7 separate regions of the Homo sapiens genome follow, and regions 1, 2, 3, 4, 5 and 7 are each linked to region 6. The links are contacts of gene promoters, found by promoter capture Hi-C in blood cells and fetal thymus (Javierre and others, 2016). All regions are on one chromosome and are shown on one strand. The core of a region is centred on a gene start or on the middle of the fragment in contact, and the rest is flanking DNA. Distances in the headings are between cores, read along the strand shown. Region 1 overlaps FCHSD2 (FCH and double SH3 domains 2). Region 2 overlaps FCHSD2 (FCH and double SH3 domains 2). Region 3 overlaps FCHSD2 (FCH and double SH3 domains 2). Region 4 overlaps FCHSD2 (FCH and double SH3 domains 2). Region 5 overlaps FCHSD2 (FCH and double SH3 domains 2). Region 6 holds the start of FCHSD2 (FCH and double SH3 domains 2). Region 7 overlaps FCHSD2 (FCH and double SH3 domains 2).

The links. The method cuts DNA at HindIII sites, captures the fragments that hold promoters and counts their contacts. A CHiCAGO score of 5 or more calls a contact.
Region 1: a fragment that was not itself captured here is called in contact with the fragment with the promoter of FCHSD2 in region 6 in 11 of 17 cell types (naive B cells, M2 macrophages, total B cells and 8 more); the score reaches 12.2 in naive B cells.
Region 2: a fragment that was not itself captured here is called in contact with the fragment with the promoter of FCHSD2 in region 6 in 1 of 17 cell types (naive B cells); the score reaches 5.5 in naive B cells.
Region 3: a contact is called between a fragment that was not itself captured here and the fragment with the promoter of FCHSD2 in region 6, in 14 of 17 cell types (naive B cells, total B cells, M1 macrophages and 11 more). The highest score is 20.3, in naive B cells.
Region 4: a contact is called between a fragment that was not itself captured here and the fragment with the promoter of FCHSD2 in region 6, in 16 of 17 cell types (total B cells, naive B cells, M0 macrophages and 13 more). The highest score is 16.5, in total B cells.
Region 5: a fragment that was not itself captured here is called in contact with the fragment with the promoter of FCHSD2 in region 6 in 8 of 17 cell types (M2 macrophages, M0 macrophages, naive B cells and 5 more); the score reaches 8.3 in M2 macrophages.
Region 7: a contact is called between a fragment that was not itself captured here and the fragment with the promoter of FCHSD2 in region 6, in 7 of 17 cell types (naive B cells, total B cells, M2 macrophages and 4 more). The highest score is 13.2, in naive B cells.

Annotation. Positions count from the first base shown.
Region 1 is chr11:72,892,712-72,895,547 of GRCh38, forward strand. The region is part of intron 10 of FCHSD2 (FCH and double SH3 domains 2); the gene reads right to left. Among named protein-coding and RNA genes, the nearest start is that of ATG16L2, 80 kb to the left of the region's middle. The HindIII fragment of the contact is 7,920 bases long and covers 1-2,836 here.
Region 2 is chr11:72,988,781-72,991,559 of GRCh38, forward strand. FCHSD2 (FCH and double SH3 domains 2) reads right to left here. Exons shown (of 20, transcript NM_014824.3): 6 at 184-317. Among named protein-coding and RNA genes, the nearest start is that of FCHSD2, 150 kb to the right of the region's middle. The HindIII fragment of the contact is 2,817 bases long and covers 1-2,720 here.
Region 3 is chr11:72,949,785-72,952,788 of GRCh38, forward strand. The region is part of intron 8 of FCHSD2 (FCH and double SH3 domains 2); the gene reads right to left. Among named protein-coding and RNA genes, the nearest start is that of ATG16L2, 140 kb to the left of the region's middle. The HindIII fragment of the contact is 1,833 bases long and covers 431-2,263 here.
Region 4 is chr11:72,916,504-72,919,510 of GRCh38, forward strand. All of the region lies in intron 9 of FCHSD2 (FCH and double SH3 domains 2), which reads right to left. Among named protein-coding and RNA genes, the nearest start is that of ATG16L2, 100 kb to the left of the region's middle. The HindIII fragment of the contact is 2,179 bases long and covers 273-2,451 here.
Region 5 is chr11:72,932,552-72,935,615 of GRCh38, forward strand. All of the region lies in intron 8 of FCHSD2 (FCH and double SH3 domains 2), which reads right to left. Among named protein-coding and RNA genes, the nearest start is that of ATG16L2, 120 kb to the left of the region's middle. The HindIII fragment of the contact is 420 bases long and covers 1,175-1,594 here.
Region 6 is chr11:73,140,787-73,143,672 of GRCh38, forward strand. It overlaps FCHSD2 (FCH and double SH3 domains 2), which reads right to left and starts at 1,532. Exons shown (of 20, transcript NM_014824.3): 1 at 1,071-1,532. The coding sequence starts at 1,091. RefSeq lists enhancers at 1-129, 130-751, 251-480, 2,351-2,460, 2,541-2,680 and 1 more and silencers at 661-800, 1,201-1,580, 1,741-2,120. The HindIII fragment of the contact is 9,673 bases long and covers 1-2,886 here.
Region 7 is chr11:73,008,220-73,011,092 of GRCh38, forward strand. All of the region lies in intron 4 of FCHSD2 (FCH and double SH3 domains 2), which reads right to left. Among named protein-coding and RNA genes, the nearest start is that of FCHSD2, 130 kb to the right of the region's middle. The HindIII fragment of the contact is 1,231 bases long and covers 739-1,969 here.

The DNA of each region.
Region 1 (2,836 bases), core at 144-2,643, 250 kb before region 6:
CTCCTGCCTCAGCCTCCCAGGTAGCTGGGACTACAGGCATGTGCCACCATGCCCAACTAATTTTTTGTATTTTTAGTAGAGACGGGGTTTCACCATGTTGGCCAGGATGGTCTCGATCTCTTGACCTCGTGATCCACCCGCCTCGGCCTCCCAAAGTGCTTGGATTACAGGTGTGAGCCACCGTGCGTGGCTGGTAATTTTTTTTTTAAGACAGTGATATTAGCAGTGGTCGATTCTAACAAAGAAACCGTAATGACTGCTTCTTTTTAAAATGCTGGCAAATTTATTTTTATTTTTAATTTTTTGAGACAGAGTTTCACTCTGTCACCCAGACTGGAGTGCAGTGGCATGATTTTAGCTCACTGCAACCTCTGCCTCTCGGGTTCAAGAGATTCTCATTCCTCAGCCTCCGGAGTAACTGGGATTACAGGGCATGTACCACCATGCCCAGTTAACTTTTTGTATTTTTAGTAGAGATGGGGGTTTTGCTATGTTGGCCAGGCTGGTCTCGAACTCCTGTCCTCAAGTGATCCACCTGTTCTTGGCCTCCCAAAGTGCTGGGATTACAAGCATGAGCCTCCACGCCTGGCCTAGATCATTCTTTTAACATTTTTCTTTTTGGAAGACAGGTTCTCACTCTATTGCCCAGGCTGGAGTGCGGTGGTGCAATCATGGCTCACTGCAGCCTTGACCTCCCAAGCTCAAGCAATCCTCCCACCTCAGCATCCCAAGTAGCTGAGACCACAGCATATGCCATCACACGCAGATAATTTTTTTGATTTTTAGTAGAGATGAGATCTCACTATGTTGCCTAGGCCATCTCAAACTCCTGGCCTCAAATGATCCTCCTGCCTTGACCTCCCAAAGTGCTGGGATTAGAGGCATGAGCCACTATGCCCAGCCCAATATTTTTCCTTTATCTTTTAAAAATGTATTTGATACAAAAATTAGCTAGGCGTGGTGGCGCCGGAGGTTGCAGTGAGCCAAGATCGTGGCACTGCACTCCAGCCTAGGCTACAGAGGGAGACTCTGTCTCCAAAAAAAAAAAAAACTCTAGTCCCTTTAGAATAAAATATTACAATAAAGTCTTTTCAACATTCATAAAGTTATTAAATAACTTTGAAGAACTAAATTAAGGAAATCAGCATTCCAATATTCTTGATATATTAGTCTTTAAGTCATCTTAACTATTTTGTCCTTAGATGCTCTCTCAAGATATGATTTTGTTTTATTTTAAGGTTAATACAAAGGCATAGAAGGCTCAGATATCTGAGCAGAGTGAGCAGCGATAGAAAAGCTGACTTCGCAGAAGAAAACAATCAGTTTTTTAACTCTGTAACTAAAATATAACCATTTCAAGGAGAGAAAAAGAGATGGTCATGTATGATGAATGAAAATCACTAACAGTAAAATACTAGCATTCCAAACCATTTCAAAAAAAGATAGTGTTGGGGTTGTTAGGCCAATGGCATAACATTCTAGTTAACCCTCATTCAGGGAATTTGTACTACTTACATTTTTCAGTTTACTGAGAGACAAGAAATATACTGGGGCTGGGCACAGTAGCTCACACTTACAATCCCAGTGTTCTGGTAGGCCAAGGCAGAAAAACTGCTTGAGGCCAGGAGTTTGAGACCAGCCTGGGCAACATAGCTAGACCCCAGCTCTTAAAAAAAATTAGCACATACCTGTAGTCCTATCTATGGGAGGCTGAGGCAGGAGGATTGTTTGAGCCCAAGAGATCAAGGCTGCCAGGAGCTATGATTGTGCCCTCCAGCCTGGGTGACAGAGCTTCTCAAAAAATATATATTAATATATTGAGTTAAATATTGGATCCATCTTATTCTTTATGAAGTATATTAATATATGGTTAATTATTTCAATAAAGTTATTAATTATTTATCCTCAAAAGGACTTCTTCAAGTAAAAAGCATCTGGATCTCTGTATTCCAACTACACGTTTGTACAGGTTCACAATCCCACAATTCTGAAATTCAAAATGCTCTGAAAAAGAATAAGTATTTTTTGGTAAGTTTGGAGCCAAAACTCACTTGAGCCAAAATGTGATTTGAACTAATAAGAGGTTATTTATAGTTTTTTCTTTCATATATACATATATGAATGAAAATATTCATATGTTTCACTGCAAAAATACTATGTTTGGTCACAGGTGCTTCCCCATACATTGCTCAGGGTTTTATGCAATGTATGGTATATGGGTCACTTTTCTAAAATCTGGAAAATTCTGAATTTTGACATGTATTTGGCCCAAGGCTTTTGGTAAGAGACTGTAGACTTTTAAGTCACATATTTCAAATATGCCACACACCTTGAAGAGGAGTGGAACAGTGCCTCTTAAGAGACATAATTTAACTTATTCTGACTATGCTAGGATAGCAGAACCTTCACTTGGAAAGAAGTGGGAACTCATCTAGATAATTGTTGAGTGTGCCTGGCCTCTCAGGAGAGCACACTGGAGAAGAACTGGTGTGGACTGAGCCTTGGGACAATTCTGGAAAACTCTGGACACCTGGGGAAAAGGAATATACCCATTAAGGCTGGGGTGAAGAAATGATGAGAACTCTGAAAGGAGCTATTCTTTTGTCTTGGATTAAGAGTACCAAAGGCAAACCTTAGCAAAAAATATGTCCCTGAGTAATGACATGAAAGTAAAACAAAAATGGCATAAAAACCTTGCGTCTAACACTTTTGAGAACATACCTAGAGGCATGGTTAGATGGAACAGCCTTATAAAGAGTATGCCTTTATTTTGGTAGCTCTCACAGAGATCTTGCTTTAAGAGCTATAATCACAAGCTAGATAGGGGAACTTTCAG
Region 2 (2,779 bases), core at 62-2,561, 150 kb before region 6:
ATTAATTCAGATAAAAATCAGCCAATTAAAAAAATGTGACCTAAAGTATATAACACATGTAGGTCAAATGAAACCACCACTACCTGAGAATGGGTCCATGCTCACTACTAATAGAGAACAAACTATTAGCAACAATAACATTTATTTGCATAATAATTTTCTCAGAAATGTTAAAACACATACTTTGCCTCGATGTCAGCTTTCTCTCGTACTGCATGAGCCATCTGTTCAGTCTCAAAGTATTTCTTTTTGCCTTTAGCTAAATCTTTCACTGTCTCTTGTAATTCAGTTTGGATCTTTGTCAACTGGTCCACACACTGTAAAATACAAAAGTACAATCATTATGATTTTAGTTTTCAGGCTTACAGAAAATGACTTCATCCTAAGGACTATACACTATGCCTTCAGGATGGAAATCCAGGGGAAAAGTCAGTACGTTCAGTGTCCTTCAAATTGCAGATTAAAATCCTGTGAATTAAAATCCTGGTATTTCCATCTCAAGTACTACACATCAAACAGTGTCACAGTTTGCCTAACAACCATACATTGAGAAATAACCCGAGTGCTGCTGATGACTGACGTTAAGGTAAGACATGGAAGAGCAACTATGAAAAATGTTCTCACTGTTGGAGATATCATGATAATAAAATCAAAAGAATAAGGCAATTCTGTATTTCCCCATAATCTTAACAAAGTCTCTCTTTATGTTTGGGTAACCGACAGTGCAAAGGGTACTGAAGAATTCACCCCTTAGACAAGAGGGAGTGAAATCTGAGTAGTCTGACTTGGTAAGTCCAAGGTGAACAAGAGAAGCACGAAACCTGGGTACCACATAACAATTATTACTCAAAACCATCCCCTGCCCAACTCCGTGGATACACATATACATTCGAGGAGAAGGGATGGACATAACAACTAAAACAATGTTTAATCAATTAACTCTTATAACACACCGGGGCCAAGCAACACTGCCTCAGGACCTTTCTGAGTATCCAAAGGAGATTGACCCCACTTTGAAACAAACCAATTAGAAGTTTCACCAGCCTGAGACCAGCTTAGAGCAGTTACATCTAAAAACTTCTAAGCCTGAAATAGCACTGGTGGAGACTGGCAAAAGCTCAGCAAAGCAGGAGGAGACACTGGTGAAGGACTATTGTGCAAGGGTGAATAGTGTGGAGGAGGGCAAGGACATCAGAAGAATGAGGATAAAACAAGAATAAACTTAACCATATGACATACAGGCTAGACTTTCCCAGAAGCTGTTAGGTGTTAAGAAAGGACTACAGGGGATGAGACATCTAGAAGATTCTGCATGGACAGATAAAAGCAAAATAACCACTCATATTTATTAAGCACTTAATAAGTGTTAGGCTGTGAAGGAAAAGGTTAAAAAAACACAAAATAAAACAAAACTTTTCCCCTCTGCACGAAACTGGGCCTTTGCTTAACTTTCTAGATCTGTGTTTCAATAGAAACCTGATGAGAAGACACAATGTCAGCTGTGTTATTAGGCAACATTGCTTACAAACCCTGGTAGGCAAACTGCATCAATTTGGGATAAACTAAAAATTAACTATAAATATCTGATAGGAACCCTCCACCCCAAATCAACAGAATATACATTCTTCTCAGCACCACACTGCACTTATTCCAAAACTGACCACATAGTTGGAAGTAAAGCACTCCTCAGCAAATGCAGAAGAACAGAAATTACAACAAAACTGTCTCTCAGACCACAGTGCAATCAAACTAGAACTCAGGATTAAGAAACTCACTCAAAACCACTCAACTACATGCAAACTGAACAACCTGCTCCTGAATGACTACTGGGTACATAATGAAATGAAGGCAGAAATAAAGATGTTTTCTTTGAAACCAATGAGAACAAAGACACAACATACCAGAATCTCTGGGACACATTCAAAGCAGTGTGTACAGGGAAATTTATAGCACTAAATGCCCACAAGAGAAAGCAGGAAAGATCTAAAATTGACAACCTAACATGACAAGGCAAAGAACTAGAGAAGCAAGAGCAAACACATTCAAAAGCTAGCAGAAGGCAAGAAATAACTAAGACCAGAACAGAACTGAACGAAATAGAGACACAAAAAAACCCTTCACAAAAATCAATGAATCCAGGAGCTGGTTTTTTTGAAAAGATCAACAAAATTGATAGACTACTAGCAAGACTAATAAAGAAGAAAAGAGAGAAGAATCAAACAGACGCAATAAAAAATGATAAAGGGGATATCACCACCAATCCCACAGAAATACAAACTACCATCAGAGAATACTATAAACACCTCTACGCAAATAAACTAGAAAATCTAGAAGAAACTGATAAATTCCTCGACACATACACCCTCCCAAGACTAAACCAGGAAGAAGTTGAATCTCTGAATAGACCAATAACAGGCCCTGAAATTGAGGCAACAATTAATAGCTTACCAACCAAAAACAGTCCAGGACCAGATGGATTCACAGCCGAATTCTACCAGAGGTACAAGGAGGAGCTGGTACCATTCCTTCTGAAACTATTCCAATCAATAGAAAAAGAGGGAATCCTCCCTAACTCATTTTATGAGGCCAGCATCATCCTGATACCAAAGCCTGGCAGTGACACAACAAAAAAAGAGAATTTTAGACCAATATCCCTGATGAACATCGATGCAAAAATCCTCAATAAAATACTGGCAAACCAAATCCAGCAGCACACCAAAAGCTTATCCACCATGATCAAGTGGGCTTCATCCCCGGGATGCAAGGCTGGTTCAACATA
Region 3 (3,004 bases), core at 97-2,596, 190 kb before region 6:
ATTTGGGTTGTTTCCACCTTTGGATTGTTATGAATAATGCTGCTACAAACATTTGTGTACACAACTTTTTGCTTGAACACTTGTTTTCAGTTCTCTTGGGTATAAATCTAAGAGTGGAGTTTTGGGGTCATATGACAATTCTGTTGGATAGTTTGAGAAACCACCAAATGCTAATGTTCACATCACTGTTTTTCCACAATGGCTGTTCCATTTTACATTCTCACCCAATTTCTCCATCTCCTCACCAACACTTGTTATTTTCTGTTTTTAAAAATTTTAGTCATCCTAGCGGATGTGAAGTGGTATTTCATTGTGATTTTGATTTGCATATTCCTAATGAATAAAGGTATTACTCATCTTTGAGAAAAAAGTCTATTAAAATCCTTGCCCTTTTAAAAAAACTGGGTTATTTGTTTTTATTGAATTGTAAAGCTTCTTTATATATTCTAAATATTAAATCCTTTTCAGATATGTAATTTGCAAATATTTTCTCCCATTCTGTGGGTTGTCTTCACTTTCTCCATAGATTCCTTTGATACACAAAAGTTTTTATTTCTGCAATTTGTCTATTCTTTCTTTGGTTGCTTGTGTTTTTGGTGATATCTGAGAAACTGTTGCCTATTCTAAGTTAACATAGACTTGCATTTTTTTTTTCCCTCAAAGAGTTTTATATAGTTTTAGCTCTTAAGTCTTTGATTCATTTTGAATTAATTTTTATATATGCTGTGAGGTAGAGGTCCAACTTCATTCTTCTTGCATGTGGATATTCAGTTGTGCCAGTACAATTTGTTGAAAGACTATTCTTTCCTCCACTGAATTGTTTTAGTACCTTTGTTGACAATCAGCTACTGATGTATGATTAGTAGTCTTTTGTATTTCCCTTTTTAAAACTGAATTTGTAGTTTTTCCTTATTTCTTTTAGGATATTTTAATTTTTCATTTATAAGAATACTTAACTCCCACATTATCATTTGGCTTCTCAGATATTTAGAGGCAGCACAGGTAGTAGTTGCGGTGGAAACTATTTGTTGTTGTCCGCCAAATGTTATCCCTTTCTTCCTGGGCACATGCTGTGGGACTACACTTCCTAGCCTCCATACCTGCTGTGAGATTGACCACGTGACTAATTCTCTCTAATTCAGTGTGAACAGAAGTAACATTTGCTCCTTTAAGGACTAGATCTTAAGAGAATAGGTGTGTCTTCTCCATGCTCTCTTTCCCCTATCCACTGGCTAGAACTCAAATAAATCAATGACACAGGTTTAGCCAGGCCATGAGAGAAAGTGATGGACTACCCTGCTATCTGAGTCTCTGAATAACTTCATGAGGCAAATGCTACCTATCTACTCCAAACCATTGCATTAGAAATAATTAACACCTATCTTTTGTGAACCACTGCATTTTGGGTCTTCCTATTCTAATTGTTTAGCCTTTATCCTAATTAATACAGGATTAGTATCTGGTGTAGGATATTGCTGTAACAAAAAAACTAATATAGGTGGCATCTGTTAAGTGGCAGAGTTGTAAGCAGTGATGAAACAGATGCTGCAGATTGGGAAGCTGGTAAACCTTGTTACACTATGACAAAACATCTGGCATATGATAACACAGCAAACGAGAGCGACAGATTACGCAGCTCTAGGGCAGAGTTTCTCAACCTTGGCACTGACTTATACGTAAAGCACTTACTACAAGGCTTGGCATTTAGCTCAATAAATGTTTGCTCTGGTGTTATTATTACACATTTCTGAACTGTGGGATTGTAAAATTTATCACCATTTTCCCATATAGTGCTTGCCTTTGCTAGAATCCTTAAAAATCTCACCCCTACACTAAGATCAGATAAATATTCTCCCATGTTTTTCTCTATTACATTTATCTTTAACAAACCTATAACTTACTTTGGCCTGGTTTGATGGAAGAAACAAAATTTTTCTTCCTAAGAGTCTCAATGTCATGACTTTTAAAATCTGTTATTTTCCCATTGATTTGAGGTTTACCCTTTCACAATCTCTTTATAAATTCTTAATATCTAACTGAGATCAATCATGCTTGCTGAGGAAATGAGGCTAGCGTTCAGTATAGCAGAGAAAGTCCTTACTCCCATAAAACTTAGGGAAAATCCTATTTGACAAGAATACTGTAACAGCTATACTCTTTCTTTCACTTACAAGATAACTTTCAGAATCTACATATTGTTGGCATTTTCAACAGGCACACTTCAGGGCATTTTTATTTTTGGCAAGAATCAAAAATTCCCTGAAGCTTCATGGTAGGTCTGCATATGTCTTACCAAATGAAGACAAGATTAGACAGGAAGAGCACCCATGAGTTTAATGCTTGGAAACTCCCTGTGTACTTTAACTTATATTGGTCTTGCTTGGTCACTCAGATGAAGCAACTCTCTCTTCTCTATCTTAATACCAGAAAGATATATATGGCCTATGAAGGAAAACACTAATCTAGTATTAGTCTCTAGTATTTTTAGAGCAAAAACAATTCCATACACTTTTTTGTTTGCTTGTGTTCACCAAGTTTGACTATCTTTTTTTTTTTTTGAGACAGGGTCTCACTCTGTGACCTAGTGTGGAGTGCAGTGGCACTATTTCGGCTCACTGCAACTTCCGCCTCCCGGGTTCAAGTGATTCTCCTGCCTCAGCCTCCTGAGTAGCTGGGATTACAGGCATGTGTCACCACGCCCAGCTAATTTTTATATTTTTAGTAGAGACAAGGTTTCACCATGTTGGCCAGGCTGGTCTCAAACTCCTGACCTCAAGTGATCTACCGGCCTCGGCCTCTCAAAGTGCTGGGGTTACAGATATGAGCCACCATGCCTGGCCTATAGTTAATTTTGGTAAGAAAATTTGGTTAAGATACATAAGAGCTTATTGGTAGAGATGAGACATTAAGTTATATGGATTAGTGGAAGATAAGGGAAGGAAGAAAGATAAATGAATACTTACAGAACACCTACTATGTGCCAGGCACTTACACATATTTACAA
Region 4 (3,007 bases), core at 112-2,611, 220 kb before region 6:
AGGGTCTTGCTATGTTGCCTAGGCTGCTCTTGAACTCCTCAGCTCAAGCAATTCCCCCACCTTGGCCTTCCAAAGTATTGGGATTACAAGCGTGAGCCACTGTGCCCAGCCTCCTTTGTTCACTTTTATATTGGGTTGTCTCTGATGTTGAGTTGTAAGAGTTCTTTGTATATTCTGAATATGAAACTTTTATCAGATATGTGATGTGCAAATATTTTCTCTCATCATTTGGGTTGATTTCACATTCTTAATAATGTCCTTTGATGCACAAAAGCTTTTAATTTGATACAGTCTAATTATCTATGTTTTCTTTCGTTACTTGTGCTTTCAACGTCAAATCTGAGAATGCACTGCCAAATCAAGGTCATAAAGATCTATCTCTGTTTTCTCTTATAAGTTAGGTCATTGATCAATTTTGAGTTAATTTTGTGAGGTAAGGGTTCACAACTTCATTGAACTTCATTCTTTTTTTTTTTTTTTTTTTTTTTTTTTTTTTTTTGAAGCAGAGTGTTGCTCTGTCGCCCAGGCTGGAGTGCAGTGGTACGATCTCAGCTCACTGCAACCTCCACCTTTCGGGTTCAAGCGATTCTCCTGCCTCAGCCTCCCAAGCAGCTGGGACTACAGGCACCCACCACCACGCCCAGCCAATTTTTGTATTTTTAGTAGAGATGAGGTTTCACCATATTGGCCAGGCTGGTCTTGAACTCCTGATCTCATGATCCACCCATCTCGGCCTCTCAAAGTGTTGGGATTACAGGCGTGAGCCATCACACCTGGCTTGAACTTCATTCTTTTGCATGTGGCTATCCAGCTGTCCCAAAACCTTTTTCTGAAGAGAATATTCTTTCTCTATTGAATAGTCATGGCACCTTTGTTGCAAATCAATTGACCATAGATGTTCAGGTTTATTTCTGAACTCTCAATTCTGTTTCATTGGTCTATATGTCTATACTTATGTCCATACCACGCTATCTTTACTACTGTAACTTTATAGTAAGTTATGAAATTGGGAAGTGTGAGTCCTCCAACTTTATTTTTCCTTTTCAATATTGTTTAAACTATTCATGGTCCCTTGTAGTTCCATATTAATTCGAAGACTGGGCCGAGTGCAGTGGCTGACGCCTGTAATCCCAGCACTTTGGGAGGCCAAGGCAGGCGGATCACTTGACGTCAGGAGTTCAAGACTAGCCTGGCTAACATGACGAAACCCCGTCTTGACTAAAAATACAAACAAATTAGCCAGGCGTGGTGGCATATGCCTGTAATTCTAGCTACTTGGGATGCTGAGGCAGGAGAATCGCTTGAACCTGGGAGGTGGAGGTTGCAGTGAGCTGAGCTCATGCCATTGCACTCTAGCCTGGGTGACAGAGTGAGACCTTGTCTCAAATTAAAAAAAAAAAAAAATTGAGGACCGGCTTTTCCATTTCTGCAAAAAAGGCCATTGGAATTTTGATAGGGACTACATTGAATCTGTAGATCACTTTGGGGAATATTACAATATTAGCAACATGAAATCTCCCAATCCATGAACATTTATTATATGCATTTATTTATATCTTTTATTTCTTTCAGCAATGTTTTATAGTTTTCAGTGTACAGGCCTTTAACTCCTTTGGTTAAGTTTATTCCTAGATAGTTTATTCTCTGAGTATTATTGTAGTTGGAATTATTTTCTTAACCTTCTTTTTGGATCATTCATTGATGGAATATAGAGATGCAACTGATTTTTGTGTTTTTATCTTATATGTTGCTAAATTTATTAGCTCTATTAGTTTTTTTAATGGGCTCTCTGAGAGTTTATAAATATAATCATGTCATCTGCAAAGAGAGGTAATTTTAATTCTTCTTTTTCAATTTGGCTGCCTTTTATTTCTTTTTCTTACCGAATTGCCCTGTCTAGGACTTCCAGTACAATGGTTAATAGCGGTGGTGAAAATGGGTATCCTTGTTTTGTTCCTGATGTTAGCAGAGGAAGATTTCAGTCTTTCATTATTGAATATGACATTGGTTGATGCTATCATGTTATGTAAGTTCCCTTCTATTCTAGTTTGCTGAGTGTTTATCACAAAAAAGTACTGAATTTTGTCAAATCTTTTTCTGTGTCTATTGAAATGATCATGAAGTTTTTTCCTTCCTTTTATCTACTTTTTTTGGTTAGACTTCGAAGTATTAAGAACAGTAACACTAGACAAATTAATTTTCAAATAAATGTAGAATAACATTGTTATTTTCTGAATTCTTTTTTTAAATTTATTTTTCTGAATTCTTAAATGAACTTTGTTATTAATTGGAAGGCATTTCCTTATGGAGACAAAAAGCAAGCACACACAAACAAATTATAAAGGCCAGTAGAGCTACCTTCAGAGTTACTATCCTAGAGAAAATACCTATGACAACATCTGCTTCAGTTACATATACAAAGCATTTCATAAAATATTAAGAAGAAAAGCAAGCTTCATAAATAATTAAAGTTTAACAAAAGCTCCTAGGGCCATCTGTTTCCATTTAGGGGATGAATGATATAGGAAGCACTTTAACATTTACAGTATGTTGGATGAATTACCACCAAAATATCTTTGGGGATATGTCACATTTTGAACATGGTAATAATAATATAAAATAAAAAAAATCTAAAAAGTGTCAAACTTCCCTTTAGGTTGCTTTCAGCAGCATAGCAAGAGCAGCATAACAAGCTCTTCATAACAGAAAAACACATGGCATAAAACTTGTAGGCCTCTTCTGGTACTTGGAACAAAAGGGCACTACATTATTCTTATTAAATTTTTATTCCTACCACTTTCAATTTAAATGTAAGAGCATCTCATTTATTCCTCATTTCTGGGGAGTGAGATACTCATATGAGTGAATGCAGAAAATGAAAGCTTATCTCTTTATGTGTCCAAACTAGTTCATAAATTCTTAATTCATTTTCTATTAAAATAATACAAGCTAAAGAGAATATAGTAGAAGATCATGGAAAGCACTATGTGTGAGTGTGTAACCTCAG
Region 5 (3,064 bases), core at 135-2,634, 210 kb before region 6:
GAGCTTTCACACAGGCTTTTCTTCTGCCTTGACTACTCTCTGCTTTCTCTCCCATGGTTTGGCTCACTCTTATCAGCCTTAGTCTCTTCACTTAATCATCTACTTGGATATCTCTATTGTCTTTTTGCTTCATAACTCCTGATCATAGCATACAACCTCATACTGGTGATATTTGTTTGTATGTCCCTCTTTTTGTTTAAGTTCCATAAAGGGAGGCATCAGGTCTGTCTGTTTACCATTCCATCTTCTGTGTTGAGCATAGGGTTTGGCATACTGGTAGTGCTCAATAAATATCTGTTCAACAAATAATAACACCAATCAGAATTCGCATGATTACAAAAAATGAATAAACCTATACTTGAGCCCCATGACTGAGAAATCTAATGATGTTACATAACATTTATAAAATCGTATACAAGTTAAAGGAGTAATTGATTTCATAAAACTCTAATTCAGTAATTTTCAAATATTTTCAGTAGTGGCATCCTTTTATGTGGAATTCCAAGACATAAAATATATATAACCTTGCATGCCTTCTTCTTCCTTCTAGCAACAGATCCTGCTGTCCTGATCTCAGGGGTAAACTTGCAGGGTAGGCAGATATGCAAGACAGAACCTCAAACCACTGTCCTCTGCCCCTAATTACTGGGTGGAGGTGGTCCCTTGACTTAAATTAGGTCATCCCTGGGATAGAGGCTGAAAGATTAATCCAAAAATGGCCTATCCTTCCCACCAAAGTTATTCTTCCTACCAAGCAGATAGTGCCTATCTGTAGTAGGAAAGAATTAAACCAACTCACAGAGAAAAGCAGTGATGAGAAATTTGGCAAAGTGAAGATGGGAATGGTGGGCAGAGGACAGGGACAGTGTCCTTGAATTGGGTAGTTCTTGAGCAAGCACCATCTCATCCTTTCTGTGATTTGGTTACCTTAGCCAACAAATTCCTCTGTTTTGCCTAAGCTACTTTGAGTTGGGTCATTGTTATTTGCAATCAAAAGACTTCTTACTAAAGAGTAATAAATGATACCCAACTTATATTAGCCATATCCAAATTGTGTCTTTTGGTTGCATTGTAAGGAAAAAAAGTTGATTCACATGGACAATAAATTGCAAGTAATAATAATTCAATTGCTTTCCTTACTATTCCTGGTTCTCTTCAATTAAACAGATCTCAAAGCTTAAAGTAGACAATTTTTATGTCAAAGCTGAATTGCAAATACAATCCAAAAGCTGCATATATTTCTTACAAATTTAAAGTAAAGTAAAAACTATTTAGTGCTGGGTACAGTGGCTCATGCCTGCAATTTCAACACTTTTGGAGGCTTAGGTGGGCGTATCACTTGAGCCCAGGAGTTCAAGACTAACTTGGGCAACACAGCAAGACTCCATCTCTACAAAGAATACAAAAATTAGCCAGGTGTGGTGGTATGTGGCTGTAGTCCCAGCTATTCAGGAGGCTGAGGTAGGAGGGCTGCCTGAGCCTGGGAGGTTGAGGCTGCAGTGAGCCATGATCGCGCCACTACACTCCAGCCTGGGCAACAGAGTAAGACACTGTCTCAGAAAAAAAAAAAAAAAAAAAAAAAAGAGCTATTTAAAGCTTACAACAAATCATAAAAGTATCATAACAGTTTGAGAAGGGCACGTATGATGAAGATGCATCTGTATCTTGTCTAGCATTTTACATTTAAATGAGCAAAACACAAGAATGTTCTTTACACTTGTTTAAGTGAACAGACATGCACAAACTTCAATTCAAAGAGACCTCTATGAAGAGCCATGCCTTTTTTTTTTTTTTTTTGAGACGGAGTCTTACTCTGTTGCCCAGGCTGGTGTGCAGCGGCACTATCTCGGCTCACTGCAACCTCCACCTCCTGGGTTCAAGAGATTCTTCTGGCTCAGCCTCCCGAGTAGCTGGGATTACAGGTGCATACCACCATACCCGGGTAATTTTTGTATTTATTAAAGTAGAGACAAGGTTTCACTATGTTGGCCAGGCTGATCTCAAACTCCTGACCTCAGGTAATCCACTTGCCTCGGCCTCCCAAAGTGCTGGGATCACAGGCATGAGCTGCTGTGCTTGGCCATAAATTTCTTAATCAATGATAGAATTCACTTATAAATGCTCAGAAATGGCAGGATAAGCATTCTTTCAAGGTTTATATAAATGTGAGTTAATCTGGCAGTATGAACTCCTTGGTGGTCTCCAATATGCAAAAACTTGGTAGGTAATTTATCCAAATATACTTAAAAAAATAGCCAAACTTTTTGACTATTGGACACAAATTTCTAAGGGAATAATTCTGTAGTAATTGAGAAACTGAGAAACCATGGGACCTTTGACCAGCAATATGTTTTAATGACTCCACAATATTTTTAAACAATTGAATTTGAATGCCTTTAAGCAGCCACGTCCTTTCCAGGTAGCTATTAGGCCACACACTCCCTTACACATTACCTCTGCCCTCTTTATTCATTTTATCTACTTGATCCTTAAAATCAGTTGAGTTTGGAACCTAAACTCCCAAACTCATAATGTTAAATACTCAAAATAGTGAAGAAAAAAAAAGGAATATTCTAAGGACAAATTCAGAAACTTAGAAATCTGGAATGCTCCACTGAACATTTACTTACAGGAAAGTGTAAATGTCCTAGAACTTGTTTGAAGAAGAAGATTATGATGAATTAGGAGGGAAAATGGGTCATTTTCCTAAGCATTTGATGTAATTTCCCCTAAAGTAAGAACTTTAAACAGTCCCCTCCTTATTTAGATCCAGGAGGGGCACAGATTCTTCAGCAATAAAGTTTTGCTGAAATCTCTTGAGTTTCCTTAATGCAGCCTAGAAAAACAAACTCTTCTTTTCTGAGAGCAACGGGCATTTCTAAAATAGACTTTGGTAAAAGTCAAGGATATAAATATCAAGATGATGATAAATGTGAGTTGTCTTAAAATTAAATCATGAAATTCTACAGTCTTTCTTTGCTGATACTGGAAGAAAACAGACTGCCTCCTTGCTTTTGTTTATCTTTTTCAGAAGACCCCAAGCTACGCCTAATCAGGTTACAAA
Region 6 (2,886 bases), core at 282-2,781:
CAGCAAATGCCTGCTGGCCAGAGAGCCTCGCCCGCCAGGCCGGGGCCCCAGGGTTCGAAGTTAACGGTCAGTCTGGAATCTCGGCCTCAGCAGTGGGACCACCCGGAGGGGTGGGGGTACATGTTCGAAAGAAAAGGACTCACTTAAATGGAGAAACCCGGATTAGGAAAGAGAGAAAGCAGCGGCAGCAGACACGGGTGAGTTAGGCGTTAGGCAAATGTTTGCCCACGAGGGGAGGACAGAACGGCCTCATCCACCCAGTGCCCAGAGTAGACATTCAGTATCCATCTGTAGGATTAAAAAGACAAGGACACAGCCTCGGCCCCTGGGAAAGCTGGGGAAGGGCGCAGCGGGGAGACTGATGACAAGCCGGGTGCATCCGTCACTCCCACCCTGGTCATCCAACCCCGGATCGCAGTGCACACCCCACGCACCTCCCGGGCCCGGTCCTCGCTTTTCTGAAGACAGCACGACAGCCTCCTCGCCCCTCAGCCGGGGACGAGGCAGGACCCGTCAATCCTTAATTTGTTTTCCCTTGGGGTGGGGAGGCGGTGACTATTCCAACTTCTTTTCGGCCGCCCCGTGGGAAAAGCAGGCCAAACCCTAAGGCTAGGCTAGAAACAAATCCCCCGCAAATTTGCAAACGGGCGGGGCTGGCGACAAGCGGCTGGAGGGCTCAAAGCTGGTGCAGACTAAACAATCACACACGCACAAGGCTCTGCAAAGCTGCAGGGGCGTCCCCGCCTCCCCCTCGGTGCAGCCCCGAGAATGCACTTTGCAGCGGGCAGCATTGCCATGCGCGCGCACACACACAAATGCACACCCGAAACTCTTGTGAAATGTCTGGGGGTCTCCTGCGTTAGAGGACGGACGAGCCCCGGCGGCCCCTCTGTCGGAAAGGCAACTCACACGCGCGCCCCCCACCTGGAGCCGGCGGCAAGTCGGTGACAAGCCCAAGACGAGGGCGGTCACGGCCCCTTGCGGGAGGGGGAAGGGGCGCAGCGGTCGCCCCAGCCGCGTTCCGCGTACGCATCTCTCCGAACCCCAAAGCCCCCCAGCTGCGCCCTTACCTTCCTCGGCGGCGGCTGCATGATGCTGAAGGGACATCAATCCTCCCCGACGGCAGCGTTAGCAAGGACCAGGAGGAGGAGGAGGGCCGGAGAGGAGGGGACGGCCCAGCGAGCGCGCGCGTGTGTGAAAGGAGCGCTTAAGAAGCAAGACTTGCCCCGGAGGGAGCAGGCCAGCGGGCGGCAGGCGGACCCCAGCCAGAGAGCGAGTGTGAGGAGACGAGGGAGGAGCACCGGGAAGGCTTGGGGCCCGGGCGGCCCGGGCGGCCCGGGGGTGTGTGAGGAAGGAGGCGGAGACGGCGAGGGGGCGGGGGCCCCAGGAGCAGGGGCGCGAGGGTCTCAGCCGGCCGGGCGGCGGGTTAGCCGCAGCCGCGTTGTCCGCGCTCCCGGTCGGCCGCCTGCGCCGCCGCTCCCGGCGGACGCAGCGGCCCCCACCCCACCCACTCAGGCGGCCCGGCCCTCGCTGGGCCTAACGCCCCCGCCCGCCCGGGAGGAGGAAGGTGGCGCCGCTCTCCCCGCTAGGGCTCCACCACTCAGGCCGCGGGAATTTCCGGCCTCGCCGCGCGGCGCAGCGCCCCGCTCCGGATGCTGAGGGAACCGCTCTGTCCAGAGCGGGGTTCGAGGGGCCGGTCCGGGCTGCCAGGAGGGAGCTAGGCCACGGCACGGGGCTTCGTACCGCGGCAGGGGAAGGGGGAAGCTAACGGATTGGTCGGTGGGTGGGAGGTGTAGAAACGCCAGCGCCACGCGAAAATCCCCCCTTTCTCTCCGAGAGTGGCACGTTCCAGACGCCTCCTGCCCTCCCTCCCCCACGCTGGGAGCCAGCCGGGGGCTTCCCGCGCGCTTTCCCGCCAGCTCGCCCCGGCGCGCGCGTCTCCGCTCGGGGGCGCGCACGTGGGCGGGAGAGGGCTCCGCGCCGACGCACGCGCACAGGCCGCCCCCGCCTCCTGCCTGCCTTTGCGTGTGTGTGTGTGTGTGTGTGTGTGTGTGTGTGTGTGTGTGTGTGTGTGTGTGTGTGTGTCGGGGGGCGCGGGGGACGACGCTCGCAGGGAAACGTTTGCAGTGGGGAGGGGGGCGCAGCATGCCTGTGGGATACGAGAATTCCGGCGTTTTCTTCCTCTCAGCCCCTCAACACCCTACTCTCCCTACCAGCTAGATGTGCGCGAGAGAGGCGAGCAAGGACAAGTCGCTTTGCGGCTGGCCGCAGGTGCCAGGCCATTGCGATTGTAGGGCGGAAAGGCAGTTGCTCTGCAAAGGAAACGGCGGCACTCTACTGCAGGGCATTCAAGTCAAACATCACTGACTCCGCTGAGAGGGAGCCAAGAGAACGTTAAGGCCGAGGCCCCCGTTTCACAGACGGGGAGGCAAGTGCCCATAGAGGGAAGCCTTTCTAAAGGTTACACAGCAGGACTAGAATCTGCGTCAGGAAGTGTTCTATGGGTTATTTTAAAAAAGAAACAGGTGCAGGATAATAAGCACGAGGAAAAGTAGAAGAGGCAGGAGAGGCCATAGAGGAAGCCCTTGTCTGGGAGTCAGGATCTCTGGGTGCCAGTCCACTTTGCCTGCTCCTTAACAGGCTAGGTGAGCTCGGCTTCCTTATCTGCCAGTGAGGGTGCTTATCTAAGCAGTGCACCCCACCACCACACATGAACCTTCCTGCTCTGTTCAGACCATCTACGGGGGAGTTTATCGACCTCCCTTGGGGTCCTCAGAAGAGGAATACCTCTTCCCCATGCCCAGGGAGGTTTTTTTTTTTTTTTTGAGTCACGGGGCTGTGTGGAGGCTGAGCTGGATTACTCCACCGTTTTTTCAGAAGTTGAGA
Region 7 (2,873 bases), core at 104-2,603, 130 kb before region 6:
TCCCAGCTACTCAGGAGGCTGAGGCACAAGAATTGCTTGAACCCAGGAGGCAGACATTGCAGTGGGCCAAGACTGTACCACTGCACTCCAGCCTGGGCGACAGACCGAGACTGTCTCAAAACAAAGAAAAGAAAATGTGATTAAGTTCATAACCTAAGAATAATTTATATAATAACTAGTAACAAGAAGAATGGTGTTTTAATAAATGTTCATACATGGTTGTTATTGGTAGTAGAAAGGGAGAATATCCTAAGCCTGGGTAACAGAAATAAAGACAAGGAAAAAGACTGCTTTCAGTCCAGTGGAGGTGTTGATAAGAACTGAAACACAACTGCAACTGAGGTGCCCAAAGGTTGGAAAACCAAGGATGAAAGCAGAAATGGCCAGAGGTAAGTAGAGAGATAATTTGGTGCCAGGTTTCTTCATGGTTTTGAATATCATGAAAAGAAATTTAAATTTATCCCATCGGCAAGGAAAAACAATAGAAGATTTTCAAGCAGGGGAGTGACAGTAGGCCTGTTTTACAAAGATATAAAGATATAGTTTGTGTCATTATAGCAGATGGAATTGTGAAAGAAATCACATGCAAACAAGCAGCTACTTAACATTTCAGATATGAAGAGATCTACAAAGAAGGTAAAATTAGAGGCAGCTTTTTGTTTCCCAAGTTGAAAAGTTAATAAAAATATATTATTATTACCAGTTCATAGTCAAGATTTAAAGACAAGAATATAAATAAGCTTACTTAAAAGTCATTAGAGAGCTGAGGGATTTTTGAGAAGCATTTACATAGAAAGGAATGAAAACCTGTTCTCAAATTTAAAAAAAAAAAAGGTCCAAGAGAAAGTAGTGTTACAAAAGTCTAATGCAAATTGAGGTTTTAATGACATTAAATGCTGCATGTATCATCAGATAGGCAAACAATTTAAAAGACTGATTACATGCACTGTTGGTAAAAAATAAAAACAAAGGGACAATTTAAAATCATACTACAGGCTGGGTGTGGTGGCTCACGCCTGTAATCCCAGCAGTTTGGGAGGCTGAGGTGGGCTGATCACTTGAGATCAAAGAGTTTGAGACCAGCCTGGCCAACATGGTGAAACTCCATCTCTACTAAAAATACAAAAATTAGCCAGGTGTGGTGGCGTACACCTGTAATCCCAGTTGCTCGGGAGGCTGAGGCATGAGAATCACTTGAACCTGGGAGGTGGAGGTTGCAGTGAGCCAAGATCATGCCACCACACTCCAGCCTGGGTGATGGAGTGAGAAGTGTCTCAAAAAACAAAGTCATACTAGAAAAAATTAAATATATTTATACAGTTTATGGGGAACAACTTCCAATATTAATATTTTAGGGCCAGTCTAGTAGTGATGAATTCCCTAACCTTTTGCTTGTCTGGGAAAGAATTTACTTCTCCTTCATTTATGAAGGATAATTTTGCTGAATACAGTACCCTTGGTTGGTAGTTTTTTTTTTCTTTCAGTACTTTGAATATATCATACCATTCTCTCTTGGCCTGTAAAGGTTTCTGCTGAGAAATCTGCTAGTAGTCTCATAGCAGTTCCTTGACAGGTTACTGCATGCTTTTTTTCTTGCTGTTTTTTGAATTCTCTCTTTGTCTTTGATGTTAGATAGTTTGACTATAATGTACCATGGAGAATGCCTTTTTGCATTTCATCTGCCTGGGGGGGTCTCAGAGCCTCCAGTATCTGGATGTCTAAATCTCGTTAGACTTGGGAAGTTTTTGTCTATTATTTCATCAAATAGATTTTTCTAACCTTCCCTTCCCTCTTTGCCATCTGGGAAACCAATAATATGTGTATTTGGTCACTTTATGTTGTCCCATATATCACAAAGGCTTTGTTAATTCTTTCTTATTTTTCTTCTTTTTGACTGCTTGGGTTATTTCATAGGACCTGTCTTCAAGTTTTGAGATCTTCTCTTTTGCTTGATCTAGTCTATTGTTGAAGCTTTCAAATGTATTTTGTATTTCATTCAATGAATTCTTCCATTACAGAATTTCTGTTTGGTTCTTTTTTATATCTCTCTTTGGTAAATTTCTCATTCATATCCTGAATTGTTTTTCTGATTTCTCTGTACTGTTTTTCAGAATTTTCTTGTATCTCATTGAGCTTCTTTAATATCAACATTTTGAATTCTTTTTCCAGGATTTTGTAAATTTGTTTTTTATTGGGATCTGTTACTAGAGAATTATGTTATTCCTTTGGAGTTATATTTCCTTGCTTTTTCATGTTTCCTACATTGATAACTGCACATCTGATGTGATAGTCACTTCTTCCAGTTTTTTGAATTTGCTTCTGTAGGGAATGTTTTCCTGAAGATAGATCTATGGTGTTGTTTGGTAGGGCCCTTTGGCCTTGATTCTGGGTGCTTGCAGTGGTACGGTATCTGTACGATTTCTTTGGCTATGAACAGTGTCAGTGGTGTTTGTAATTTATTCAGTGGTTTCAGGTGCAGTTATTAGTGGGGCCTGTGGTAAAGTTTTGCTGAGGACTGGGGCACCAGGTAGGCCAGTCTTTGAGCCCCAGTAGAGGCAGTGGTGAGTTGGCACTAGTAGTCCAGGTGGGCCAATTCTTGGCCTTCAGGTGGCTTACTCAGATGCTGGTAGTGGCAGCAGTGAGCTGGGTGGGTGGGCAGATTCTTGGGCCTCTGGGCAGCTGGCATAAAACAGCAGTGGCAGTGATGGGATAATCTTCTGGGTCTTGAGCAGTGTATGCTGGTGTTGGTGGTGGCTGTGAGGGGGTGGGCAGCTCAGTCTCCAAGCCTGCAGGTGCCATGTGCAGGTAGGTGTCAGCTGTGATTGTAGTGGCAGGGGTGGGTAGAACCAACCTCAGGCCCCCTAGAGGAGTAT